Linked DNA regions of Homo sapiens: regions 1, 2, 3, 4, 5 and 6 are each linked to region 7. Evidence: promoter capture Hi-C in 16 types of primary human blood cells and fetal thymus (Javierre and others, 2016). All regions are on one chromosome and are shown on one strand. Each heading gives the region's core, a stretch centred on a gene start or on the middle of the fragment in contact. The rest is flanking DNA. Distances are from core to core; before and after follow the strand shown.

What was found. The method cuts DNA at HindIII sites, captures the fragments that hold promoters and counts their contacts. A CHiCAGO score of 5 or more calls a contact.
Region 1: a fragment that was not itself captured here is called in contact with the fragment with the promoter of ZRANB2 in region 7 in 8 of 17 cell types (activated CD4 T cells, total CD8 T cells, naive CD8 T cells and 5 more); the score reaches 15.4 in activated CD4 T cells.
Region 2: a fragment that was not itself captured here is called in contact with the fragment with the promoter of ZRANB2 in region 7 in 2 of 17 cell types (total CD8 T cells and activated CD4 T cells); the score reaches 7.3 in total CD8 T cells.
Region 3: a contact is called between the fragment with the promoter of ERICH3 here and the fragment with the promoter of ZRANB2 in region 7, in 1 of 17 cell types (total B cells). The highest score is 6.3, in total B cells.
Region 4: a fragment that was not itself captured here is called in contact with the fragment with the promoter of ZRANB2 in region 7 in 3 of 17 cell types (activated CD4 T cells, total CD4 T cells and total B cells); the score reaches 8.9 in activated CD4 T cells.
Region 5: a fragment that was not itself captured here is called in contact with the fragment with the promoter of ZRANB2 in region 7 in 4 of 17 cell types (total B cells, total CD8 T cells, total CD4 T cells and 1 more); the score reaches 10.6 in total B cells.
Region 6: a fragment that was not itself captured here is called in contact with the fragment with the promoter of ZRANB2 in region 7 in 9 of 17 cell types (total B cells, naive CD8 T cells, naive B cells and 6 more); the score reaches 29.8 in total B cells.

The regions. Positions count from the first base shown.
Region 1 is chr1:74,712,343-74,716,106 of GRCh38, forward strand. It overlaps CRYZ (crystallin zeta), which reads right to left. Exons shown (of 9, transcript NM_001889.4): 5 at 2,237-2,288. Among named protein-coding and RNA genes, the nearest start is that of CRYZ, 19 kb to the right of the region's middle. The HindIII fragment of the contact is 355 bases long and covers 1,847-2,201 here.
Region 2 is chr1:67,676,443-67,680,770 of GRCh38, forward strand. No RefSeq gene overlaps it. Among named protein-coding and RNA genes, the nearest start is that of GADD45A, 6.6 kb to the right of the region's middle. The HindIII fragment of the contact is 964 bases long and covers 1,545-2,508 here.
Region 3 is chr1:74,671,711-74,676,068 of GRCh38, forward strand. ERICH3 (glutamate rich 3) reads right to left here and starts at 2,082. Exons shown (of 15, transcript NM_001002912.5): 1 at 1,787-2,082. The coding sequence starts at 1,809. The HindIII fragment of the contact is 21,395 bases long and covers 1-4,358 here.
Region 4 is chr1:74,738,847-74,742,956 of GRCh38, forward strand. The region is part of intron 3 of TYW3 (tRNA-yW synthesizing protein 3 homolog); the gene reads left to right. Among named protein-coding and RNA genes, the nearest start is that of TYW3, 7.8 kb to the left of the region's middle. The HindIII fragment of the contact is 1,566 bases long and covers 1,576-3,141 here.
Region 5 is chr1:67,417,987-67,421,761 of GRCh38, forward strand. It overlaps SERBP1 (SERPINE1 mRNA binding protein 1), which reads right to left. Exons shown (of 8, transcript NM_001018069.2): 6 at 2,023-2,200. Among named protein-coding and RNA genes, the nearest start is that of SERBP1, 11 kb to the right of the region's middle. The HindIII fragment of the contact is 871 bases long and covers 1,048-1,918 here.
Region 6 is chr1:74,693,502-74,697,578 of GRCh38, forward strand. No RefSeq gene overlaps it. Among named protein-coding and RNA genes, the nearest start is that of ERICH3, 22 kb to the left of the region's middle. The HindIII fragment of the contact is 1,846 bases long and covers 1,520-3,365 here.
Region 7 is chr1:71,078,773-71,082,965 of GRCh38, forward strand. It overlaps ZRANB2 (zinc finger RANBP2-type containing 2), which reads right to left and starts at 2,263. Exons shown (of 10, transcript NM_203350.3): 1 at 2,168-2,263. The coding sequence starts at 2,223. It overlaps ZRANB2-DT (ZRANB2 divergent transcript), which reads left to right and starts at 2,552. Exons shown (of 4, transcript NR_046217.1): 1 at 2,552-2,641. RefSeq lists an enhancer at 2,213-2,502. The HindIII fragment of the contact is 3,322 bases long and covers 2,118-4,193 here.

The DNA.
Region 1 (3,764 bases), core at 774-3,273, 3.6 Mb after region 7:
AGTTGTGACAACCAAATATGTCTTCAGACATTGCCAAATGTCCCAGAGCGGAAGGAGAAATGATGCAAAATCACCCGCTACTCATAACCAGTGATTTACAGGGAGGACCGGGTTCGGCAAGAAAAGAATTAAGATGAAAAATAATGATAGAAACAGATTAAAGCTGTAACAGACTTCCAGGCCTGAAGTGGACCTTAAAGATTGTATGGCACATGGGAATAACGAGGCTGGACTCAGCCAGGTTATGGCAGGAATTTGTTTAACTGAAACAAACAAATACATGAAACTCACTGTCTGATGGAGGAGAGAGACATCCAATTAGATAAAACACAACCCACTATGGGGTGGGCACAATTAATTTTCTATTTTAATTTTCAAATTTAAATAAAAGACCTCTAATAAAACCACACTTTAAAAAGCTAACGTAACTACATCTCCTTGTGTTCTAACTGCTTTAAAAGGGCACTCAATAGCTCTTTTAAAAAGGCACTGTTTATTCTATTCTTGTCAACAATTATACCAGCAATGATCCTTCAACAGATTATGCACCATTATGTGTCAACTATTTTTCTTCTACTTATTTTGCTAACACTAAAATAGGGCACTCCTCACCAACATATCTGGATAATAGCTGTGTTCATAAATTCCACACCATTTTAAACACACAACATAATCCCAAAGGAATTCGAATTAAATGAGGACAGAAAGTACAAACAGAAGCAAGGCAAAACCCAGTACTGTTTCCCTCTGATAGGACAGGGAGGATCAGAAGCACTTCACACACCAGGTCACCAGCCTATCCCTGCCAGCTGAGGATTTAACAAACTCAGCCAGCTCAGAGAACAGTGTGGATTTTACCTTAAAAAAAAATCATGGTGAAGCAACTGGGCTTTTTACAAGAGGGTAAAGGGAATATAAAGAGATTTTCTTTAAACTCTTCTCTCCCCTTCCTACTGAAATCTTTCCCTTCTGCACAGAGCACTAAGTTAGCTCTCTGAAAGCCAGGGTAATTTAAATAAATGTATGTGTTTGACAGACCCTTTAGTTACTTAGGGTTAAATTTAATTTAACCCAAAAATAGCCTCTTCAGTGAAGTTAAACAGTGGGAGTTTTGGACAAGGTATATCTGTCATATTGTCTCAAGCCCCATAAAGACAATCCTAGTGTTTTTTCATAAATTGTTTGATCTGTGAAATCCTTTAGAATTGATCTATTTGAAGTGTAGGAAGCTAGGTGTGAAACCTCGTGATTCATCTACCTAAAGAAACAGAGAGACAAAAAGGACTGAAATTACCTGGGCACTTTTAAAGGTAAATTCACATTTTCAGGATACCACTCATTATTCAGGGGACTATGTGCCATTTAATAGGTTACTTCTTTCAATCCACTCTCCAGAATACACAGTGCTCTGAAATGGTTAACAGCCTCCTCAAAGTAAGCATCTAGCCCCAGGCCTTTTATTTTTAAAATGCAAAATCTTATCTCCAAAATTTCCAAAGCATCCAGTGACAGAGTTCATGTGGATTTCTTGTTAAATTCTAACTGCAGAGCTCTAACTTTTCCCTCTAAGCTCCTGAGAGGCAGATTGGCAGCTAGTTTCTCGAAGAGGTTTCTGACAGCCCTGCATTGGGTGATTTCATTGAAGGGCTTATTTTAAGTTCTGAGTCCTCCTCCCCCATTCCCCCACATTAGCATTTTCAGCCATGGGTTGTGGTGTTAAGGACAGGGCTGTATACGTGCACTCCATGGATGTCATCAAAGTGCAGCAGGCAAGCAGCAGAAGGGAGATAGAAGGACTAAGAATTCACAGTGTGGCTTTACCGTGCTGTCTGGGGCAACATAGGTAAGCTTTAATGAGCCTTAGTTTCCTTATCTAAGGGAATATGGAATTAATATCAACCTTAAAGAACTGTTTAAAATTCTAAATAAATATTTTTATAACATATGCTACTTGAAGGCAAAAACAAGGCCAGTTTATCTTAGTCTACACCCAATACAGGTGGAAAATCTAACATATTTTTGAAGGGGTGCTCTGTTGAGTTTATTAACCAAGAAATGCTAAACTAATGACAAAACATCACCTTCAGAAGACCAAAATCAAAAGTTTTACTACATAAAGAAAAAAAGCACCTTTGACTCTATTTATAAATCTGACTTTTAAAAATGACCAAAGGAACTATAATGTGAAACCCATAAACCCAAGCTTGTTTCAAAATACATTAAAAAAAATACTTACTCCTCCACTTGCCCCATGAACCAGAACACTCTCTCCAGCTTTCACACAGGCACTGCAAAGGAAAGCATAAGTTACATCACCTTATTTTTTGAAGCTAATTAATCTCGGGTGTTTTCATCATCTTAAGGAATTTCTACCCCTAGTCTGGCTAACACTTACACAAACAGCAAATGCAACCTGACATACAGCCCCAAATATTCCCTAAGCTCCACAGAATAAACAAAGCCTTCAATTCATTTATTCCTTGAACAAATATTTATTGGGAGTCTTTATGTTCCAGGCACTATGCTGCTGGACACTGGGATGACTATGTGGTGCTACTTCTGAGTGGCTACAGTCCTTGTGGGTTGTGAAGTAAAATTGCTGAGCCTGGAGGATCTGGAATCTCTCATTCCCATATATCCCCCACAGAAAGGGCCTCAAAGCAGGTTTATTATATAGCTCAGTCTTTATTCTGTGGTCTAGAGTAATGTCCAAGTAAACACAGTAGCTATTTTTTTTGCCCAAGGAAAGAAAGAAATTTTTCTTCTCCATGTCTCTGAACATCAGGTTGCACCAGCCTTGTACTCTTTCAGGGAGGAATGCTGAGTTAGCAAAGGTCAGAGAGTAGGAAATGCAATAAATTCTATCACAAAGATTCCCATGTCATCCCCCTGAAATGTCCAGATTCTCTGGTGAAATGGCATTTTCTTTTTACTTCCAGTTCACATGACTACTTTTCTAGTATGTACTGAAAAGAAGGGACATGCAGCAAGGCATGAGGGGATGCCTCACTATTCCAGATGGACGGTGCCAATGTCAAAAGCCAGCAGATGCTGTGAGATCCAGATCTGACTCTCAGGAAGGCTCTCTTACTTCCTCAAACAATGTGGGGTGGCCACACTGCAGAGACATTATAGAACATTATGCTCCACCTGGGAAAGAGAACAGTAACCAGAGTCCTGCTCCCAGCTATGCACCAACAGCTGAGAAGTGGCAACAATGAGCAATAAGTGAAGCTTTCTCCCACACTCTTGCTTAGAGCTGAAGGGACTGAGGACAATATGTTAAAGTAAAACATAAACATAAGGGGATAGGATGACTAGTGTTAAACTATGGGATATGAAATACCTCCCAAAGAAATTTTTCAAAAATTCTTATAAGATGCCCCTCAAACACTAAAGACACATTCTCATAAATCCCTGGGGCCTGGGGTGAGGGGAGAAAAAGCAGGCAAATCCCCTCCTGAATCCTTGCACAGAGTCGCTGTGACAGTTAATTTTATGTGTCAACTTGACTGGGCCAAGGAACCCAATATTTGTTCCAACATTACTCTGTTACAGAAACAGTGTTTTTTTTTTTTTTTCGAATGAGATTAACAATGGAATAGCTGGATTTTGAGTAAAGCAGATGACCCTCTAGAATGTGGGTGGGCCTCATCCAATCAGTTGAAGGCTTTTGTTTTCAAAGACTGACCTCCGATGAGCAAGAGTAAATTCAGCCAGCAAACTTTCTATGGACTTAAACTGCACCTCTTCCTTGTGTCTCC
Region 2 (4,328 bases), core at 777-3,276, 3.4 Mb before region 7:
TATTCTTACTAATAAATAAAGCCTAGGGGAGGATCACTTGAGCCTGGGAGTTGGAGGCTGCAGTGAACTGAGATTGCGCCACTGCACTCCAGCCTGGGTGACAGAGGGAGACCCTGCCTAAAACAAACAAACAAAAACAAATAAACAAACTAAAATAAGGTCTGGTGGGGGTAGGGGAGGAAGTGTCTTTAAAGGAGCTGGCAGGCCTTGAATCTATTATAGTGTTGAGGACAGCATAACTTCTGAATTTTCTAAACATCTCTGGAAGCCAACTCACTGCTGCACACAGATTTCATGAGAAAATCTTCTAAAGGGATGCACATAGGTTGAAGTTTTGACATGTCTGAGTTTTGGAAATTATGCTAAGTGTCTTTTCATTAAACTTGGAGAAGAATGAAGGGCAATGCTCATATCATAGGTGACAACCTGAGAAAAAGTAAATTGCAGAGCACTGTAAAAACCCAGTGTTTAAGGACTCCTCATAGCTAGAACCAAATAAATTAGGATTTCCCCTGTGGTTAGATTTAAGGCAAATACAGCTTCAGGATCACAGATGGACTTGTTTTGATAGTTTACATAAAAGATATAAATCCAAACTTATAAAATGGAGTAGAGGGTCCAGTTGCTAGGGATAATTAGGGACACGCCAAATTAACCAAACTTAATTCAGATGGTCATTAAACAGTGACCCCACCTGGTTTTCAGTCGTTTTACCATCTGTTGTAGCTCCTTCTTCTCAGATGGGAGAGGTCTCACTAGCTCCCAGGTGTGACCTGTTTATTAAGACACAGTGCCAAATCATACTCCATAGCATTTGGTAACCAGACAATAAATTAAGGTTAATAAGGCAAGTTGTAACATAACTTCAACTGACCTATGGAAACAGATTGAAATGTTTGAAAATTGATATCAAAGCAGAGGAACATGAATGTTTTTTAAATTCTTTAGACACATTATCTGGTGATTGAATTTTTAAGGCCCAGAAAAATAACTTTTTTTGTGGTAAGGTAAGGTATTTGAGGTTTCTCAGTGACTGCGAAAAATATAGAGTAATTATAGAATAATAAAATTATTAAGTAAAAAATGTTAGAGCTGGAAGGGTCTTAGGGAACCAGACATTTCCCATTGTGACCAATATGCATGGCTCAGAGGCTATGGGGTGTATTGCAGGAGGGGAGTGAGGGGGAGCCTAAACTTGCCAATCCCTGCCCTTCACCCCCACTGCTATCCGGCTACTGCAGCCACAACACTTCCACTTTTATCTATCTATATGTGGGGATTATGCCTACTGTGGATTTTGGGGAAAGGGAGTTCTTTTCAAAATTAAAAAGAGTTCACAAATATTTGTCAAATGAGGAAACTGAGGAATGGCGAGGGTAAACAACCTGCTAAAGATTCTATCATTCAAGCCACATTCTTGGAGGGACATCACATTAGATTTATTATTGTTACTATGTCTGCAAAGTAGCCACATAGTTCTTAATTTTACAGCATCATTTCAAAACTTCCATAAATACAGACCAGATATACAATATAAACAAATAAGCTTATAAACTGGCCTTCTTGTATTTGATGGCGATGCTTTCCTAAAATAGGGAGGACGGCTTGCCAAGAGGGAGTCTCCAGCTGAGAAAGCAAAATCTCTGACACATTTCTGCTTAGTGGACAATGATACTAATAAGATTGCCCCCTCCTATATCTTAAGGGAATGAGCTGGAACATATGGCAAAAATCCTTACAGGTCAACAACAGAATGTTAAACACAATCCATCACTTTGCCACAAACTGATATGGTCCACAAAGCACAGAAGTAAAGTGTTCATAATGGATAGCCAGATAGCAGACTATTCACTACATTCTTTGGTTACTGAAAATGAGGCTACTTTGGACCTTTACATACAAAGTCTCATGGGAGCCAGAAAGACTACTGTCACACAAACATGGCTGTGGCCCACATCTAAGACCAGCTATACAGAAATGAGCACTCCAAAAGACCATGTCCCAGACCCTCTTCAAAACATCACAGTCTTACAGAGCTTGATCCTAAATGATCTTGTTTTAATATTTAATATCTTCCAGACTTTGAGACTGACATTTTATTGCCAAAGTACATGAGGACCAAACCAAAATAAAAGAATGCATATTATTCAAAGAACAAAAAAAACTTATAAGCTATTTCAAAGAATAAGTTTTACTGGCAGAAATTTCCAGTTAATCAGGATTAAATGCTTACAAGCACTAAAGCCAGAGAGAGAGGTAGAAGTTCAAATAGTAGTAAAGAATGCTCTTATTCTCTTTTATTTCTTTTTCTTTCATTCTCAGTCTCCTAAATACTACTTTATTTCCTTAATTTCATCTCCAATTGTGTTTCTTGTATGTTGCTTCCGCAACATAACCCATCTTTGCTTTCAAATCTCCCACTTCAAAACTGACCTTCATAAAACCTTTCAGAGTTGTTTTCCTCATCATTATAATCTCTTTGTGCTACATTGAAAGAACAAGACTTGAAGCTTGGCAATTAAGCACCTTTTAATCTATTGGGTATTATATGTGTATACAGTACAGGTCAAAATCCTTAGCTTACAAAATGGGCCAGTTTATAACCCCTGAAAAAATTATAAGAAAAACAGTTGGACGGGGGTGGAGGAACTATGAGAATAATATGAATGCAGATAAGGGTGCACAATCCTCTGTAACTAAAACAATACAAGTAGTTTTCTGATGTCTTGGAGGACTGAAAAAAAAATACAAGCCCCAAAACAGTATTTGATCAAGACACCTTCCTTTCTAATATACAAAAAAGACAACAAATTATATAACTCTTATGTTCTAATTCATCAATTATATATTAAAATCTGTGTACCTTATTCATTCAATAATATCTGATTTAACAAATATTTATTGGTGGATCATGAGGTCAGGAGATCGAGACCATCCTGGCTAACATGGTGAAACCCCATCTCTACTAAAAATACAAAAAAAATTAGCAAGGCATGGTGGCGGGCACCTGTAGTCCCAGCTACTCGGGAGGCTGAGGCAGGAGAATGGCGTGAACCTGGGAGGTGGCGGATCTTGCAGTGAGCCGAGATCACGCCACTGGACTCCAGCTTGGGCGACAGAGTGAGACTCCATCTCAAAAAAAAAAAAAAACCACAAAACAAATATTTATTAAGAGTCCACTCTGTATAAGGCACTGTTCTAGTCACTTAGGGACCAATCAGTGAACAAAACAAAATTCTACCCCATATTTTTGGATAGTGGAGTGGGCAGGAGGAGAATCAGATAACAAACAATATATATAAGTAAAATATATATGTTTGAAGGTGATTGTGACATGATCTTTTAAAAAAACAGGATTTAAGAGATTAGTGGTGCCAGGGAGTAGAGGTATTGCAACTCAACTAGAGTGAGCAGGGTATGGCTCATTAGGAAGGGGGCTGGAAGGCAATGAGCAATGTGGTATCAGGAGAAAAAACATTCCAAGCTTACAGTCAGCACAAAGGCCCTGAGGCAAAAGGAAGTCCAATATGGCTAGAGAGAAATGAGCATGGGGGGAACAGTGTAAGATAAGATTGCTGTAGGGATCAGATTTTTATAACAGCTTTATTGATATAATTCACATTCTGTACACACCCTAAATATTTTATTCAATGGGTTTTACTATATTAACTGATTTGTACAATTGTCACCATTGTCAATATTAGGACATTTTCATCATGGGCACAGATTTTATATGGTATTTTAAGCCATAGTAAGGACTAGGGGTTTTTCTCTGAGTAAAAAGAAAAGCCATTGATAACTTTGGGTTAAGGAATTGACTGGGATCTGACTTACTATTTACAGGATCACTTCGGCTGCTGGAGGTGAAGGGAGGAAAGGCAAAAGCAGAGGGAGACCAGTTGTTACATTTTCCTAGGTGGGAGATGATGCTGGTGGTAGTGGTGATGAGAAATGGTTGAATTATTTTACATTTTGAAATGGAGCCTATAGGATTTACTGATGGACTGGATGTGGTTGTGAGAAAAAGGAATCAAGAATGACACCAAGGTGTGGGGGGCTGAACAGTGGGAAGAATGGAGTTGCCATTGACCTATTGTAGGCACAGATTTGGCCAGACAATCAGGAGAGCAACAATTGTCATTTTAAGTTTAAGATGCTTACTATATATTGATGCAGATATGATGAATAAGCGCTGAGGTTCAGAAGAGATGACTGACCAGGTTTGAAATATATTTGGGAGTCATCAGCATATAAATAATTAAGGCCATGGGACCATATGAGGTCACCAAGAGAGTGAGTACAGAGAAGAGGTATAAGCATGAGCTGTT
Region 3 (4,358 bases), core at 832-3,331, 3.6 Mb after region 7:
GCACATCGTATGCACATAATAAATATTTAGTTCTAACACAATTTTCATTTCCGAATACATGCATCTCTAGATTGGATGCACCATCCGGCAATACCATTTATTCAGCACACATTTGTTGAGTTTTATTTTGTTCTGAACACTGTCCTAAGTGAAGGGATCAGAGAAATTAATACAATATGGTGCCTACTTTTCAGGAGCTTACCATTTAAGTGCAAAGTATTTGTTGCCATCTTAACACCTTTCCTGAAGAGTACCATGAAACATACTCTTGCATTAAATCACAAATTTCCCTTTTCCCCATAGGCTTGGAACTAATGGAACTTCAGAAAAATTTGACTTCAGTTTCTGAAATCTTAATCATGCACAGTTTAATCAATAGCTACATTTTTCTCACATTTTAAAATAGATTATTAAATGGTCTAATCAGATTCTAACTAGCCAAAAACTTGAAAAACATAGGAAGACAACCATGACTGACATATTTATTTTCCCAAATGCAAACATACTGCAAACATCAGCTGCTGAAAAATAGTGCTATTTGCATCTTACGTAGCATCTTACATGACCCACAGATAACTAAAAATTGCACAGGAGTTCAGCATCAAAATGTTAAAAAGTACCTAAATTAAATTCAACTTGAGATAAAACAAAAAGTTTATGTAATCATAGCTATATCACTTTTCTAAAAGTTCTGAAACTGATTTCCAACGTGGCACCTTATATGGCTTTAGTTTTTTCAAACATTTTCATTTACGCCATTACACTCAGAGAATTCATTAAAAAGTAAAATCTTGAAGTTTGGGTATAAGTTCCAACACAACGACTAATGTGGTACTTCAAACATCACAAACTCCAAATGATCTCAAATATGTTGTCCTCTGCTAATTTGCTGCTCCTAAAAATGTGCAATAAATGCAATTAAAAAGGAAAGTGCCTTCAATTTAATTGCAAGATTGACTAGGATATTTATCTTCTTACTAGATGTATCATAATAAAAAATCGTCTAATATGCATTACATTGTTTAATTCAGGAGGAAATTGGATATTCTCCCTTCCAATAAAAAAAGAAACTTTTTTTTTTTGCAACAGCCAATAATGACGGTGTTCTTTCTAGAATACATTGAAAATTGCCAAAATAGGTTATCTAAGGGGTTCACCTACCTAAAGCAACTGAAGATCATGAGTAAATACACAGGCACACAACTCCTCCCTCTCTTTTCCTGTGCCATATAACCTTCCTTTATTAAAATACTTTTTAAAGACCCTTATGGTCCTTTTGAGATTGGGCAGAAAAAAATCCCTGAAATAATACCCCCTTTTCCCAATGAAACATCTTTCAATACTGAATGAACTCACACCTCGCTTATATGTAAGCTAAGGTGAGAATGCATCTCTCATTCTCAAATCTCCAAACGAATTCTTATTTTGGTAACCTCTTCTTTTGCATCTAAACACACATGTTCCACACCACAGGATCTTCTTGATCCCAGCGAAGGTCCTTGCTTAATGTATGCGTTTTTCACTTCCATTTTTTAATCCTTCCAGGGTGAAAATTTCAAAAGGGGCGAACGTGGGTGAAAGAAACGAAGAAGGGGAGGGAGGAGACATGATGCCTGGGATTTCTGCCATCCTCGCTGCAACCCAGAATTCGTATATATTTTCCTCTCCCCAGCCCTCCCCCTCGCTCCCCTCTCGCCCCTTCCCTCCGCAGCAGGAGGGAGGAGGAGGGGCAGCTGGCTGAAGCCGCCACCTGCCACAGCGTGGAAAAGCTCCAGTTGTCACTTACCCAGCGGGGTGAGAATGGCTCATTTTTGCAGGATCCCTTTTGGACCCCGCGGCAGGTGCGGAGGGTGGGTGCGTGGGGCCCCGTGCGCGCTGGCGCTGCGACAGTCGCGCTCGAGGGGTGGCTCCGCACCGAGGTCCCCTGTGCGCGGGCACCTGGGCTGGGCCGCCGCCGCCCCTGGGCGCCCGGGCTACCCGCAGCCTCCCGGGCTCCCACCCTCCGTTGGTATCCACAGCTTCCCTGTTGCTAAGGGAGGAGAGAGGCAAGCGCCCAGGGTCTGGAGAAGCGGAGGCGCTACTGGAACCGAGCCTGCGGAAGCTGGAAGTGAAGCCAGCTTCTACCCCTTTTTCTGGGCCCTGATAGGGAGGAGACCCAAGCAAGCCCCTGCTCTGTTGCTCTAGGGCGCGAGTTCCCCAGGTATCTGTAACATGAAAACACAAACACACTCGTGCACACACACAGGCACACCCACACATTTTGGCTGGCGTGCTTCCTGCTAGGCCCTGGGGAAGGAAGGACTGGGTAGCGGCTGAGGGTAATAAGAGCAGGGAGCAGCTACTGCGTGATGCGGTGGTTTCCAGTGCTAAAACAGCGATTGCAAATTTGAGGGAAAGAAGGACGTCTCTCAATCTGTTTTGGGTTTTGAATTTGTTTCTGCATCTGTAAGGCATTACAATCGACTCATTTTCTCCTTGGAAAACCCCTATCCTTCTTCCTAGCTGAGGTCCCCACTTCCAGTGGGCAGGGCTGACAGAGCTGGCTTTCAGAAGATGGGGGAGACGCAGTTATTCAGTAAAGCACCCAGAAACAGTACTTACATTGGAATCCAGTACATGGAATGCAGGGCTTAGATGAAGCAGCCTGGATTTAAAGGAGGATCTGAATGTGGAGGAAGTTTAAGCACTAGACTTAGATAACCTATTCTTGTTTTGTTCATGCTTGGTCAGGTGTTTTGCAGAATGACTTGATCTCTGGCCTCAGGTTCCTCATGTATAAGTGAAGGGTTGGACGCATCAGTGGTGACTGAGCTTTCTAGGGTCTCTATTCTGGGTCAGCCACATTTAGAGGTGGGAAGAGCATCACCTCATTAACGTCATTCTGCTTTTCCTCACGTGGTAAAGACCCACTGAGTATGACAGAGTTCAAACTCCTTAGTGTGACATTCAGGGGCCCTCATCACCTGGCCCCAGTGTCTTTCCCGAGCCTGTGTGACCACTTTCTCCACTACCTTAAACTCTAGCAAAACCAAACTCTTGCGCTATCCCTCTAGTGGAAACATACTTTCACCCTTGACTACTTGGAAAACTTCTATTCATCCTGTAACACTTAGCTTAAACACTTCCTCTTTGACATCCTCAGGTGTGCTAATGACTCTGGCCTCAGGGGGCCACTCGGCTGGGATATGCCTGTTTTGTGCTTACCCCCTGTATAACACTTGCTGAAGTAGATGCTGCCTTTTCTACTCAAATGCAAGCTCCTCCATTTCATTTTGTACATCTATTCCATTTTTCTATATTCTCAGAAGGAAGCAACAGTTTAATAAATGTTTGCAGCATGAGTGAAGGGAAAAAAGGAAACTCTTGAGTGGTGGCATTTGTAACGAGTTGTTACTAAATGCTCTCCTCAGCCTTTTATTGAGCATTTACTATCTCATTTAATCCTCATCTTCATTTTATGAGACAGGTTTTTTTCTCCATTTCATAGCTATCAAAACTAATACATAAAGAAATTAGTTATTTTTTCTGACATCTACAGTGGCTTCCAATGGGAAAAACTAGGATTCAAATCCAGATCTATCTGATTTCAGCCTACAAATGCCTTTAACAATTACAAGTTGATTTACTTTTCCGTGGCCCCTATAAATTGCCAGAGAAGCCAGATATTCTATACCATTACAGGTTTTGGACCTGAGTGACCAGAGCCATTCCAAGAAAAAAAAAAAAATATGATGCTAGCCCAATAGCTTAGGTCCTGAGACTGAAGGATTCAAGGCTGCTTCAGAGCCCAACTGGCCAGAGCTAGACTAAGGCAGAGGTCATCTCCCCGTGTCCCCTACCGTATGTCTATCCCCACTAACATTGGTTTCCATTTGAGGTTGCCCTTAATGCTCACTGTAACTAGATTTCACCTGGATAAAAATCGGGACTGGGGAAGGAGGAGGAGGAACTAGAAAGATACACTGTAACTTGCCCCAGGTGCTGCCAATCCCTAAGGATGGTGTAAATAATGTAATCTTATATAGATACTAGTTGTTACAAAATTCATTTTTGCAAATAGAAAATGGTATTTTCTCACTGGTTCAATGAGAAGGGAAATTAAAATATACTATTTAGATACTCAGGATTCTGTAGAAAAGATTCGCCAGCACTCTGCAGACAGTGAGGTACCCTCAACAGCATGTATTAATTCATAAATGGGGTTTGAGTTCTCCACCCCTGTGAGCTCCACAATTTCACATTCCTGATGAAAACTGCAAGGAAGCTACTAATTTTCACTTCAGAAAATGCTCACTGTGAAAATGTATTGGGAATTTAGCCAGAATGAGTTTCTATGTTAATTTCTAGAATGGAGATAG
Region 4 (4,110 bases), core at 1,109-3,608, 3.7 Mb after region 7:
AGCTTTTAACCTGCTATAAATATCAATGAGATATTACCTTATTCAACTAGTTATGTATATATTATTTATTGGTCTGCTCAATCTATTAATTTTTAATATTAGAAAAAAAGAGTAGCTAATCATTGCTAGGAAAATATAAGTCCCAGGTTATGCTTCCTGTTTTCTTTCTTAACGTTTTTATTTATAAATTTTACTTCAGCATTCTATAGTTTGTTTTTGTTTGCCAAGCTTTAAGAAAAAATACTGTGGAACTACATGTAAAATTAAGAGTTTTAAAGAATATTTCATTTTTCCCATTTAAATGAGCATGCATGAGGTAAACATCTGTTTAGTCTTGATTCTCCTTTTTATACCTTTTATATATTTATATATAAAACTGAATTGCATTTTAAGCAACAATAATGTATTGAGTCTCAGTGTGTCAAGTACTAGGGGCACAGTGATGAACAAGATTAAAGACTGTCTTGGTTCCTCTTCCAAAGTTAGGAGACAGCAAAAACAAACAAGTGAACTGGCAAAAAAACAAAAAACAAACTGCAAGTTGCAAAATGTTCTACCGAAGGAAAAAACAACCTGGTAATAGAGAACAGTGCAAAAAGCAGCTCACTTGAAGATAGGCTTCTCTGAAAAGCTTTCTTTAAGCTAAGACTTAAAGGAACAGAAAGAGCTAGGCATGTAGCTGGGAAATGAACATTCCATGAAGATGGAAAAGTATATACAAAGTTTCAGTGGGTCTAGAGAGTGGAAAGAAGGTGCCAGAAGGAGGCTGGGGCCAGGTCATTTAAGGCTTTGTAGACCAGATTAAAGAGTTTGAATTTCTTTCTGAGTTCAGGGAAAAGTTATTGAAGGGACAGTTTTAAGCAAAGAGTGGCTTTCTAGGTTTTTGTTCTGAAAAACTCAGTTCTGCTTCAGCATAGAGAAAGGAGTGCAGTAAGTGAAAAGATACGAGTTAGGAGTAGTTTGTGGTGATAGGTTGGTGTAAGGTGATAGCACCAAAGCAGGTGAGAAAGGAATAGATTCAATATGTATTTCAGCATTTGAATCAACAGAATTGTAAGGTTGTCTGGGGAAGGACAGCCAGAGGGAGGAGGAGAAAGAGGAATCAAGGATAACTACTTAGGTCTGGCTGGAGCCCCTAGCTGTATGGTAGTCGCCTTTATCCAGATGGGGTGTGCTGAAGTTGAAGTGTGTCCAGAATTGGTTCCTTCCAGTGGGTTATTGGTCTCGCTGACTTCAAGAATGAAGCCGTGGACCCTCGCAGTGAGTGTGACAGTTCTTAAAGATGGTATGTCCGGAGTTTGTTCCTTCAGATGTTCAGATGTGTCCGGAGTTTCTTCCTTCCAGTGGGTTCGTGGTCTTGCTGACTTCAGGAGTGAAGCTGCAGACCTTCGCAGTGAGTGTTACAGCTCTTAAAGGTGGCATGTCCAGAGTTGTTTGTTCCTCCCAGTGGGTTCGTGGTCTTGCTGATTTCAGAAATGAAGCCGCAGACTTCCACAGTGAGTGTTAACAGCTCATAATGGTAATGCAGACCCAAAGACTGAGCAGCAGCAAGATTTATTAAGAGTGAAAGAATAAAGCTTCTGCAGCTTGGAAGGGGACTCAAGTGGGTTGCTGCTGCTGGCTCGGGTGGACAGTTTTTATTCCCTTATTTGGCCCCACCCACATCCTGCTGATTGGTCGCTTTTACAGACAGCTGATTGGTCCATTTTACAGAGTGCAGATTGGTGCATTTACAATCCTTTAGCTAGACATAGAGCGCTGATTGGTGCGTTTTTACAGAGTGCTGATTGGTGCGTTTACAATCCTTTAGCTAGACACAGAGCGCTGATTGGTGCATTTTTACAGAGTGCTGATTGGTGCGTTTACAATCCTTTAGCTAGACACAGAGCGCTGATTGGTGCATTTTTACAGAGTGCTGATTGGTGCATTTACAGTCCTTTAGCTACACACAGAGCGCTAATTGGTGCGTTTTTACAGAGTGCTGATTGGTGCATTTGCAGTCCTCTAGCTAGACAGAAAAGTTCTCCAAGTCCCCACTTGACCCAGAAAGTCCAGCTGGCTTCATCTCTCAATCCACCCTCTAAACAGGACACCTCAACTGCTGCTGGGAATTTGGCGATGACGGCTCTAGCTACTTCCTGCTGGATAGGGGTGAAGAAGGGGCCCTGCAGTTGTAGTGTCCTCCAGAGGGGAACTCTTTAGACCAGTGAAAGGGCCAGTGGGTCCGTCCAGGGGTCCTCGGTAGAAGTTGTTAGTTGAGCTCGTTTGGCTACAGTATATAGTCCTATCACAAAGAGTATGGTTAGTATGCTGCTAGAAAATATGATGAAATAGTAAAAGGATTCCATTAAAGGGGTAAAGAGAGGTGTTAAAGATTATGTAGGTTTTCACTTATATTTTTTAAGGAGGAATGGGTTTTTCCTCAGGATCAGAGGTAAGAGCCTTTTTAGTCTGGGATGTTTCCTTCCAAAATAGGAGATGCAAGTCCTCCAATGGTTCGCAGGTGTATCGAGGCTGGTCTGGCTGATCTTGGGACTCCTGAGCTGATGGTCCCGCAGGTTCCTCCGGGGGTGTCCAAAATTTAACTGGGGTGTGGTGAATCCAAGATTCCACTCCTGCCATCTTAACTGCAGTGGGGGTAGAGAGGATTACCGAGTATGGTCCTTCCCACAAAGAATCTATAGATGGGGAGGTAGAGGGGAGAGATTTGACTAACACTGGATCTCCTGGTTGAAACAACTCTGTTCCCTTTTCTCTGTGACATCCTTCAGGTAGGTTTTTAAGGTTTCGTTGATATTTTGCCAAAGAAGTTATATTTTTGACCAAGTTGGCCATTTCCTGATCAAGTAGGAGTTCATTTGTGAGAAAAGTTCTTCCATACAGCATTTCATAGGGACTGAGCCCCATTTTGTGAGGACAATTTTGGATTCTCAACAAGGCCATGGGCAAAAGAGTAGGCCATGGGAGATGAGTTTCTTGTGTTAGTTTTCTTAAGTGCCTCTTGAGTGTTTCATTTGCCTTCTCGACCTTCCCTCAGGATTGTGGCCTCCAGGCACAGTGAAGGTGATATTGTATCCCTAGCTCCCTGGAAATGTCCCTGAGTTATCATGGCTTTAAAAGCCAGATCATTGTTGCTCTGTAAGCTTTGGGGAAGCCCAAATCTAGGAATTATTTCATAAATTAGGACTTTAATCACTGCCTGAGCCTTCTCTGTCTTGCAGGGGAAAGCTTCTATCCAATTTGTAAAGGTATCAACACAGACCGACAAGTATTGAAATCCCTTTGACTTAGGCATATGGGTGAAGTCTAATTGCCAGTCCTCTCTGGGATAGTGACCTACTCTTTGTTCCCCAAAAGAGGCCTTAGGATGAACTAAGGGATTATTCCTTTGGCACACCCCTCACAGGCTTTGACTACCTGTCGGATGGCCTGGAGGAGATTTGGCCCTGTAAATAGGGATTTGGCCATTTGATGCGTGTTTTCAATACCCATGTGAACAGTTTCGTGGAGGGTTTTAAGTATTTTCCACTGGCTGGCTTTGGGTATAAGTACCTTTCCTTCTTCTGTCGTTAACCACGCCGAGGGGAGAAAACTATGCCCCCGTGAAAGTCCCCACTCTGTTTCGGTTGGGGAATACTGGAGCTTAACCTCTTGGAGGGGGTTGTTCCATACCAAGGGTCCTTCCGTAGGTATTTCTAATGGGATGTTCTGCCTGGCAGCAATTTTAGCCTCAGCATCTGCCCAACGGTTTCCTTCTGCCTTTTCTCCTTCACCTTTCCGATGGCTTTGGCAATGTAAGACTGCCACCTCCTTGGGTTTTTACACTGTGTGTAGTAACTCCATAATTTCCTTGTGGTATTTAACGGGAGTTCCCCCAGAGGTTAGGAACTCCCTTTCTTTCCATATTGCAGCATGGGCATGTAGGATTAGATAAGCATACTTACTATCTGTAACAAAGTCTCCCAATCACAACTGAGGAGGTAGGAGAAATACCTGGTTACAGGCTGTCCCAGGATTCCTTGGATGGTAACGGACCTTGAGGACAACTCCCTGAGACAGGAGATTAACACTGAGAAAGCCACACCAGTGTCCAGGAGGAAGTCAATTTCC
Region 5 (3,775 bases), core at 233-2,732, 3.7 Mb before region 7:
TTTTTTTTTGAGACAGTCTTGCTCTGTTGCCCAGGCTGGAGTGCAGTGGTGTGATCTCAGCTCACTGCAACCTCTGCCTCCTGTGTTAAAGTGATTCTCCTGCCTCAGCCTCCTGAGTAGCTGGGATTACAGGCATGCACCACCACACCAGGCTAATTTTGTATCTTTAGTAGAGACGGGGTTTCTCCATGTTGGTCAGACTGGTCTTGAACTCCCGACCTCAGGTGATCCGCCCGCCTCAGTCTCCCAAAAGTGCTGGGATTACAGGTGTGAGCCACTGCGCCTGGCTGAAACCACGTGTTCTAATGCAGTTTTTTTTCTACAGGACTTAAAAAAGACAATGTCCTCATTTACTACTCATATGAAGTAAATGTTAAAAATCATCTCTAAACCTAAAAAAACTTTTAATCTTTTTAACCTCCATTTTATTTTAAAATGTTTCCAAGTTTGTCTTATAGCCATTTTGCAGTTTAAAAAATTATGCTTATTGGCTGGGCATGGTGGCACACGCCTATAATCCCAGCACTTTGGGAGGCTGAGGCAGGCGGGGATCACTGAGGCCAGGAGTTTGAGACCAGCCTGGCCAACATGATGAAACCTCATCTCTACTAAAAACACAAACATTATCCGGGCATGGTGGCGAGTGTCCGTAATCCCAGCTACTGAGGAGGTTGAGACACAAGAACTGTTTGAATCCGGGAGGTGGAGGTTGCGGTAAGCAGAGATGGTGCCACTGCATTCCAGCCTGGGCGACAGAGCCAGATTCTGTCTCAAAAAAAAAAAATAAAAATAACTAATACCTTATTGAAAGGGTTTGCCCTCACAATATTTTAATTTAACTTTACCTTAGGATGATAAAACTCAGTCTGGATTTCTGGCACAGCCCAATTTATGATATGAATAAATCAAACACAAATGTCAAAAGGTTAAAGGAAGCTGATAGAGAAAATGAATTTAGGAGAAGAAATAATATAGTTAGGGCTTGTATGAGTTTTTAAAGCCAAACAGGAAGCCGCACTGAAACATTCCTCTAAGAACACACCCCAAAGCTTAAACGGAAGCTACCAAATCAAAAGCCATCAATGTGACTTTCTCCAATACAGTTGACCCTTGAACAACGTGGCTTTGAACATTCTGCCTCTGTCAGTCTTGAGACAAGCAAGCCCAATCCCTTTTCTTCCTATCCAAAATAAAGACCTTTGTGATGATCCAGTTCCACTTAATGAACAGTAAATATATTTTCTCAACATTTTCTTTAGCTTACTTTACTGTAAAAACACAGTATATAATACGCAACATACAAAATGTGTTAACTGGTTATGTTATCACTAAGACTTTCAGTCAACAGGTTATTAGTAGTTAAGTTTTGGGAGAGTCAAAGGTTACATGTGCATTGATCTGCGGGGTCAGTGCCCCTAGCATCCTCATGTTGTTCAACAAGTCAACTGTATTTTCACTAGTTTCCATGTTTCTTAAGTAAAACCCACATATACTTTGGTTTTTAAAGTCGTCATTCCTTAGACAAAATGCACATTGCCATTTACTGAGTGTCCTGGCCATTATATATGGTATAGGCAGACAGTTTCAAAAGTTGAATTCTAAATGAAGTCACTTACATTTTAGGTTAAACCATATGAAAATGTCAAGATTTCAACCTAACACCATAATACCACAGCCCTTTAATGATCCCCAGTTTGGCAAGATTTCAAAAATACAACCACAACTTTGAAAAGAACTATCATATTTCTGAACACCAATAACTACAAGATACTCCACTAACAGCTTTTTAGGAAAAAGTAACTCTACCACATAAAACATAATTACAAATTGATCAAAGGACTAAATTTCTTAGAATATGTGATAATACAGTTTATTTTCCTTATAAAGCAAATTATCTGCCCCAAATGATCCTATGTAAAGCTTTAACAGACAAATAACCCATGTGAAATTTTAAAACAAAAATTATAAATACAATTCAAGTCACATCTGAACATTTTCAAACACGACAAAACTTAATTTTACCTCTTCACTCTTTGATTTATGAAGAACAAATCCCTTCTTCCACTGCCCATCAGCACCTTCATTTGGTTTTCGGATATTAAATTCTACTTTTGCCCGGTCCTTATTTTGAATAGCCTTCCACTCATCCAAAGTCATCTCTTTTGGACCCTCCTCTTTTACCTCTTCAACTTCATTCTCCCTGTGAAAAGGTTTTCAAGTTTTATACCTGGTAGAGAGCTGATATTACATAAAAGTATTTTAAATTTATGATTTTAATTGAGAAAATTAACCTTGTAATCTTTTAGAGAAAGATTATTCAAGGATGAGGGTACCCTAGTTTCCTATGTAACTAAGCAACTTGGTAGAGACCAGGAATTCAGTGTTTGCTAATTAGAGACAAGTAAGGAATATGGAATTCATACTTATGAACTCTTAAATGATCATTTATCAGTAATACAATCTAGAACTGGCTTTACGAATACTAAAATACACATTTCTTAAAAACACTACCTTGTTTAAAAACTACCCTCTTATGTAAAATCCTCAGCCTATCTTCTCCTAAACCACATTTTTAATTTCCATAATTCCCACAATATGTAACTCTTAATAACATACAAGAAGGTAATCCTCTAGGATGTCTGTCAGCAACCAGGGTTCAAATTTTGGAATATAAAAGAACTGTTCCTCTATGCTTTGTTTCAGCAACTAGCACTTAGAGCAAATCAAAACAATAGCCGTGTTTCTACAAATCCTAAAATCCTTATACTCCAATTTTCAAACCAACCTGTATATGGAAAGGAGGCCATGGATTCACTACTAATAGAACTATCCACAAACACACACTGGTTTCATTATTTAATACTAAACCATTTATTTCCAAATATAATTCTCAGGTCTTAACTATAGAATATGATCCTTTCCTCTTTTTACAGAAACAAAGCACAGGCCTAAGGATCCATTATTTTAGTATAATCTCAATCTGCAATTGTCACCAAACAAGTCATTTGCTATTTGGGGAGCCCTGCTTCTTTCCAAAGATAGCAGGTGATTCAGTTAGCCTTAGAGCTCAAATATCTCCCTGGATGCTGCCCTTTACTGTTTGACAAATGCTATCTTAAAAGTTCCTCCAGTTACATCTATGCTGCAAAAAAAAAACAAAAAACTTCCTAGAGCAAGTTTATATTGAATTGACAGGATCTTGGGATCTTGGGTACTGAGTCCACCTAGTCATTTTACAGATGAGAAATCTAAGAATATAAAAAAAGTCCTGCTTACCCATATGTTATGACACAGCCAGGAATAGAACTTAGCATACCTTTTATCATATCATGGAGGCATGACACCTACCTTTCAGGAATTACTGCAAGGATTAAATAAAAACCAAACAGAAGCTCTGGAAGCTATATATAAGTTAGTTCATCAAAGTCAGCCAATGTTGTGTTTCTTAAATTTATACTTCCATATGCTATGCCCAGATTCTCCCCTAGTCTGGAATAAGATTACAGACAGTTCTAATGTGATGGATAATTATTTTCTTTAAACCAAACACCCTCAGTTTCGCTCCTGGGCACTGAGCTAAGGATTTGCTACCAATAGCCTATCAATACATTAGTACCTTTTGGTAAACAGTTATAATCTTTGCATATCACTGAGTGATTGAACATGGGCTCTATTAAACAGTTGTGGTTGGACACGGTGGCTCACACCTGTAATCCCAGCATTTTGGGAGGCCAAGGCGGGAGGATCACTTGAGGCCAGGAGTTCAAGACCAGCC
Region 6 (4,077 bases), core at 1,193-3,692, 3.6 Mb after region 7:
GCTCCTGATATTCTCTTGACCCCTTGCTCTATTTCATGTTTCTTTGTAGCTCTTCTCGTCGCTGGACAGTGTACTTGCCTGTCTATCTGCTTATTGTCAGTCTTTCTCCATTGAAATGCAAATTCCATGAAACCAGAGTATTTGTCACTGAAGTATAACCTACCTGCAGAACAATGTCTGGCTCAGAGTAAGGGTTTAACAAATACTTGTTAAATGAGTAATATTTACTTGAAACATTTATGGAAGATTTAGTCAGATGGAAAAGCAAAAGGTTTTTACAACTTGTCAACCACTTACTATGAGGAAAGTACTATTTTCTATCTTATGTGAGGCAAAAGATCACAGACCCATTCCTGAATAAATGAACAGAACAGTGGGAGTCAAATGTCAATAAATAATTGTAATCCATTAATTCATTCAATCTTTATTTATTGAACATTAAGTAGAAGGCGGCTAGATTTTTCAAATCTTTTCTATGTGCCAGGCATCAGGCAAAAACATAATAAGGTTTGTTTAATATATCTTTCATAACAATCAAATAAGTAACTATTATCCCTGATTTACAACCAAAAAAACCTGAGGCTTTCCAAGGATATCCTGCTAGAGTCCAAGGTTGCCACACTACTGAAAAATAAAGACTATACCCTAGTTCTGTCTCATCCTATATTGTTACGGTACTGAAAGGAACACAGAGAAAAGCCACCTGATCATTAGTGAGGTCAGAAAAGCCTTCTAAGTAAAAGTAACACCTACGGTAAACCTTCAAAAGTAATATACTGAAATTAGGCAAAGAAAGGAGAGAGAGTAAGGCATCCTGGCCTGAAGAAATAACATCTGTGAATTATTGTGATATTGTAATTTCCATGAAGAGAGAAACACAGGTCTTAGTGCCTTTGTCTTTAATAATAAAGTAGATTGAAATTTAACTGTCTGAATTTGTTACTAAAATATAAATATACACCCCTCTAGAAACAATGACAGAATGAGTTAATATGTGATATAACTCAATCAGGCAATGCAAATAATCAGCATGAAGGAATTACCTATAAGCACAAGACTGACGAACATCTAGTATTCCAGATTTTAACAAAAGAGATATGATTGCCTATAAACAACTTTTCCCATTTGTAGTATATAATTAAATAACTTATGTGGCAATTAAATTACATGCCAATTAAACAGAATTGCAAGTGCTAACATAACAAGTTAAAACAAGTGGAAGTTATTACTGAAACACATCAATTGCTTTTTTCTACTAAGTTGAATTGACATTTAAAAAATTAACACTGACCTATGTTATGCACTTTCAGTATTTAGAATGTGAGTTAGGCTGTTAAAAGTTTTAAAGGTAAAAAATTGAAAAAGGGTAAAAGAAGTAGATTCTTGTTTCACCTAAATAAAATAATAAACAAAAATAATTTTTAATAGATTGGTTTTACTTATTTTTTAATTCCTTTTTTTCTCTGAATAATCAAAAATAAGCTTTACTTTGAAGTAAGATGGCAGGTGCCCAGAGCTAAGCTTTGATTGCACATAAAACCAGCTTTTTCATACTTGATCCAAATGTCAAATGTCAAATTTCTACTTTACAGTTAATGTACAAACATGTATATATACACCTCTGTGTGTTCTTCTGTGATACAATTTAAATTTCAGATTAAATGTGTATACATACATATGTATGTATATATATACACACACATACATACACAAATATATTAACTTTTATTTAAAGTTCAGGGGTATATGTGCAGGTTTGTTACATAGGTAAACTTATGTCCTACAGGTTTGTTGTACAGATTATTTCATTGCCCAGGTATTGAGCCTAGTTCCCATTATTTTTTCTGACCCTCTCCCTCCTCCCACCCTCCATACTCTGACAAGCCCCAGTGTGTGTTGTTCCCCTCTGTGTCCATGTGTTCTTATTATTAACTCCCACTTATAAGGGAGAACGTGTGGTATTTGGTTTTCTGATCTTATGTTAGTTTGCTAAGGATAATGGCCTCCAGCTCCATCCATGTCCCTGCAAAGGACATGATCTCATTCTTTTTTATAGATGCACAGTATTCTGTGGTGTATATGTACCACATTTTCTTTATCCATTCTATCATTGATGAGCATTTAGGTTGATTCCACATCTTTGCTTATTGTGAATAGTGCTGCAGTAAACATATGTGTGCATGTGTCTATAATGGAATGATTTATATTCCTTTAGGTATATACCCAGTAATGGGATTGCTGGGTCAAATGATATTTCTATCTTTAGGTCTTTGAGGAATCACCATACTGTCTTCCACAAAGGTTGAACTGATCTACACTCCCACCAACACTGTATAAGCATTCCCTTTCTCCACAACCTCACCAGCATCTGTTATCTTTTGACTTTTTTTTTGGGGGGGGGGGTGGGGGAAGGAGTCTTGCTCTGTTGCCAGACTAGAGTGCAGTGGTGTGATCTTGACTCACTGCAACCTCCACCTCTCGGGTTCATGCGATTCTCCTGCCTCAGCCTCCTGAGTAGCTGGGATTACAGGCATCCGCCACCACGCCCAGCAAATTTTTTGTATTTTTAGTGGAGACGGGGTTTCACCATGTTGACCAGGCTGGTCTTGAACTCCTGATCTCATGTTATCCACCCGTGTCAGCCTCTGACTGGTGTGAGATGGTATCTCATTGTGGTTTTGCTTTGGATTTCTCTAATGATCAGTGACATATTAATCCTGAGAGAGAAAATTGTACAGGTAGGAAAACCTGGCCTGTTATAATCTTTCACTCATCAAACTTGAGTGCCTGGGGTATGCTAGGTCTTATCCATCATCTCAAGTTGCTTAAATTCTAGGGCAAAAAAAGTTAAAATTAAAATGAAAATATTCATTCCTCCTGATAAGCAACTGCACGAGTTTTACCTAGTCCATCTTTTTGTCTATTGTGAGGTTTATAGCAATTCCCTTTCCATCATGACTGGAGTGACATCTGATGAATAGCTGCTCCCACATTTCACTAACCTTCCAAGGGGAAAGATGCCTATCTCATCTTCTAAATACTGCACACAAAGACATACACAGATCATCCTAAAACTAATCAAATGATTAATTTTCAAATTTACTCAGAGAAAAGGTAATAAATGGAAATAAATGGCATGAGCAGAACTAGAGGCAGGAGAGTGCTGGGTTTGAAGGGCAAATTGGAGGGGGAGGCAGAACAGCACCTGCTCCTTATGATTGGCTACATCTACAATATACGAAGTAGTGAAAAAGCTGGAAGTTGAAGGTAGATTACAAGTTCCATCCAGGGCTAGGTTTCAATGAGTGACTTTTGAAGAAGGATGGTGATTCAAGATAATTGAGGGTACTTTAGTGACCAACTTAAGCTTGGTGGGATGTGAGAGCTGCTTAGGGCCTTTGGACTGAGATTGGCAATGAAAGATCAAATGAAGAGAGGGACTGAATGAGGTCAAAGAGCAGGGAAAATTGAAATGAGGGAAAATGATTGATACAGTCTGAATGTTTGCATGCCCCCCAAATTTACAGGTACAAGCACCTAGCGCCAAGGTGATGGTACTAGGAGGTGGGGTCTTTGGGAGGTGATTAGGTCATGAGTACCCAGAGAGCTAGCTCTGCCCTTCCACCATGTGAGGACACAATGAGAAGGCACCATCCATGAACCAGAAAGCACATCCTTGCCAGACACTGAATCTGTCGGACCCTTGATCTCGTATTTCCCAGCTTCCAGAACTGTTAGGAATAAATCTCTGTTGTTTAGAAGCCACCCAGTCTAAGGGACTTTGTTATAACAGCCCAAATGGACTAAGAACATGATTTTAATATCCACAACATTTTTTTTTTTTTTTTGAGATGGAGTCTCGCTCTGTCACCCAGGCTGGAGTGCAGTGGCATGATCTCAGCTCACTGCAACCTCCTTCTCCCAGGTTCAAGTGATTCTCCTGCCTCAGCCTCCTGAGTAGCTGGGACTACAGGCACATGCCACCATGCCTGGCTAATTTTTTTTTTTTTTTTGTATTTTTAGTAGAGACAGGGTTTCACTGTGTTAGCCAGGATGTTCTCAATCTCCTGACCCCGT
Region 7 (4,193 bases), core at 1,013-3,512:
CCTCACTACATATCTGGAATTCATAACTTCTAATCCATCTTAGTCATGTTAATGTCAATGTTACCAACAAAAAACTCCACACAATTTACTGGGGGAAAAATACTTGATTGGAGCCACAAATTCAGAATAAGATATCCCAATCCTCCATTTACCAGTCATGTGATCTTGATTAAGTTACTTAGGATCTCTGCCTCAAGTCCTCACATTAGCACATATCATTAGTTATAATCCCTTTACAAAGTTGAAAGTGAGAGTTAACTCCACTTCACTAATTACTTACAAGCTACCAGGGAGTTTTAAACCCTAGCGGTGGACCAATGAGGAAAAAAACTTATAAATCAAGGAGGGCTTCATGGATCTTAATGAAATTATCTTTTTACATGCAGTAGGTAGGATGCTAAGGAACCAAATATGATAGGTTGTACTGACTAAAAATACAAAAAGATTCAATAATTGTAAGAAAACTGAGTTTTACAGGGCATTTCTCAAACCTCTGAGACTTCGCTGAAAAAAATGACACAACCACCAAAACCAATAATCTCAACACATGTAGTACAGTAAGACTTTATGCTTATACTCAACAAACTCAAACCTAAAGAATTACTGGTTCACTCACATGACCTTAGAAGTGTACGTGTATATTGGTAAAAGTATGTTAAATGCTCTGGATAACATGGAATGCTTAAACTTTAAAAAGCTGATTTTTAAGGCATTATACTAGAATACAATACAGATGTGAAGTATGGGATGACACTAAAGTGAAACACTCTAAATAATATTTAGGTTAAGTTTTTCCCCTAAAAATATTCCTTTTAACTCCATTAAGCATGGAAAATATACTCTGAAAATTTATCCTGCATTTAAACATATTGTACAAACAACATTCTATTCATATATTTGTAAATGAGTTGAAATGAACTCTCATTGAGAGTCCTACCTCTGGGTGTGCTGTCATTAAAGACACTGACAAAAGCACATTATTTTACAGGTAACAACAAAGTCAGAAGTTGTTGTTCTAAATCTTTTGAACGTTTTCAATAATGTCTTACCACTCAGAGCAATACTATCCATAACATATAACTTTGGTTCTATTCAGTATCATTTGTTAGGCTTGAACTACTCCTTCAGGTCATCTTAATATCAAATTACTATCAATAGCCACCAATTAGAATTTGCTACACGTCACTGTTTACACACCCTATCCATGTTATTTCATGTTTTCATTAAAAAAAAAATTCTATTCCTTTTTTAGCAGTTAAATAAGTAATAGAATTTTAACTAAACCCAGGTTTATTTCAAAGTTTTTGCTTTTTACAATCAAAACCTATTTGTGGCTAACTTAGGTACAACAAATAAAAGGCTTTTATGTGAACATGAGTTGTACATTAAATTATTTTCCATGTTATTTCCGAATAGATACACCTATTTGTGCACCCTTCAAAAAAAATCTGATTAACTATCTAGTCGAGTACTGGCTTTGGCAACAATGTCAAAAAGCAGAGCCACTAACACACGTGCTTCTCTGCTGCAGGCATCTTAAGGGCTGAGTAGGCAAAAACACAGGCCTCTTCCCTCCTTTTCGGCTCTAAGGAGGCGAAAAGCCCAATTCTTGTGGAGAAATGATCCACAAAGAAAATGTCAGAATTTCCCAAACCGAAGAGGGTAGAGCTTCCGGAAAAGGGGAAAATAGTATGGAGGAAAAGTTTGAGTAAAAATACAAAACAAGGTGAACTATAAGAGGCAAAAGGACGAGTGCGAGAAAGCAATATTTTCCGTGAACAAGAGTAAAGTTCTGCAGAGAAAAGTCACGTGGGGGAGATCCAACACCAAGCTGGCCTGACTGGAGAGGTTTCCTATCGCTAAAACCTGGCCGGGGCGGGGGAGGGGGGTGGGGGCAAAAAGGTAGGCCATCTCGCACTCTAAAAAGAGAGGCTACCTTGCGGAGGTAATGTCGAGGAAACGCTGAAGACATATCTAGAACAAAGGCTCCCGGAAAGACCTCTCTCGTGAGGAGATTGGGAGCCTTCTTCCCGCCAGGGAACTGGCGGTTCGCCGCCTCAACCCGTCTTAAGGCACAGAAAATCATAAAAAAGGAAAATGCCGGACGGACCTCGGAAAGCTTCCACTAACAAACTCCGTCCCAATTCAGGACCCTTCTTGAACTCACTTTTTGTCAGGGCAAATCCAGTCCCCGTCACTGACTCGGAAATTCTTGGTCGACATCTTGAACGCCACCAGCACAGCCACCCGCAGCTATGTCTTCACAGGAGGAAAACGGGCCGGGGACTTTCGGCAACTCGGGGCTGTCCCCACACTGCCTGACTCGCGCCTACTACTGTGTCAGGGTTTGATAATGAGGGAACTAGCCAGGAATTCAGCTTGTACGTTGTTGTCCAGACTAAGATGCCTGTGCTACTGTTTGTTAGATGGAAAAGTTAAAATACAAATATCTTTTCTAGAACTAAACTCACAGGCGCCATAAGGACAACCCAGGCAGGAGGCCTTCGTGGCACTAGAAGCCTCGGAGAGCCCCCTACAGGTGGGAGGACCCAAGAGTAAAGTACTTCCGCTTCCTTAGGTGGAGCTGGAAAGGTGGAGGCGGAAGTGACTGATCAATTCAGGGGCGTGGGGTTCGTTTAGGGTAAGAGGCGGCTCGGGCTCTTCAAGTGTTTAGAGAAATTATTTTAATAAGGCATAAAAATTCTGTTATTTCATACACATGGGATGTCGTTTGGAAACCTATTTTTATATATACATAAATAGGTGTAACAGATAAGTAAGCAACTTATACATGGGAACCAGCTGGTAATTTTAAAACTGAGACATTGTCAACACTGTTTAAATTACCAGTGTCTTTTCTGATACCATCCCATTACTTTCTTCCACAGATAACACTTTCCCATATTTGGGATTTATTCTTTTGCTTTTTAAAAATTTATGTACGTTGTTAGTCCAAACTGCACCATTTTTGTAAGCCCCCCTGCCATTTTGCAGACCTTAGTCAAAGTGAAACATTCCACGGGGTTCGGGCGTGAGAAACAGGCTGCCTCTTATACTCTGCTGGGAGAAAGTACCACATTCCACTGGAACAAGGGCCAGAGCCGCCTCGTCCTGGGAACACCTTATCAACATGTTCCCAGGAAGCAGGCCATGGCCCCCCAGACCACTCCCACCCAGGCCTATAAATCACCCCAGCCTGTAAGAAGCAACGGGCACTGGCATTAAGCTGGTCTCCCACCTCTGTAGGTCTTATGCTGGACATAAATCCTGTATTTGTTGTTAAGCCACCCTCTCTTTCTTTAATCCTTGCCTTCCCTTCAAAACCTAACATACATGTATGTTTAATTTTATGAGCTGTGTAAGCATAGTTGATTCTGTACTCTTTTTTTGTTCATTATGCTTCTAAATTAATCCTAGGTAGTTGCATGTAGAAGTGTATAGGTGTAATTCTTTTATTTGCACTGATGTATACTGATACTATTCCGTTTTGTGGTTTTGTGACAGTTTATTCCTTCTGTTTCTCAGGCTTGGTATTACAAACAACACCAGTATGAGCATTCTTATGCATAGATTCTGGTATATAAATGCATTAATTTTTTTTAGAATACAGCATATACAGTCATGCCTCACTTAATGATAGGGATATGTTCTGAGAAATGCCACTTTCGGCAATTGTGCTGTTGTGTGAACATCATAGAATGTGCTTACACAGGCCTAGCAGGTATAGCCTACTACACACCTAGGCTATATGGTATAGCCTATTGCTCCTAGACTACAAACCTGCATTTAGTACATCTTATTGTACTAAATACTGTAGGCAGTTGTAACGCAGTGGTATTTGTGTATCTAAATATAAAGGTACAGTAAAAATATGGTATTGTAATCTTATGGGACCACCTTTGTATATGTGGTTCATCATTGACTGAAATGTCTTTATGCAAGTATGATTATGTTTAGGAGAGAAATTGTTCAACTACTCTCTAGTTATGATTGTTGCTTTAAAATCTGTATTATAACATTTTGGTCATCTAGGAGTTAGCAGGTGTTGATTATATTTTCCCTTGCAAGTTGGTCACATTTTTCCAGTTCTTTTATACTGTGTAATTGTGGATTTTATCTAGGACATTTTGAACATTATGTTGCATAGACTGAGTCCTGTTAAAAGCCTTTAGGGAATGTTGATTTTTTTTTGT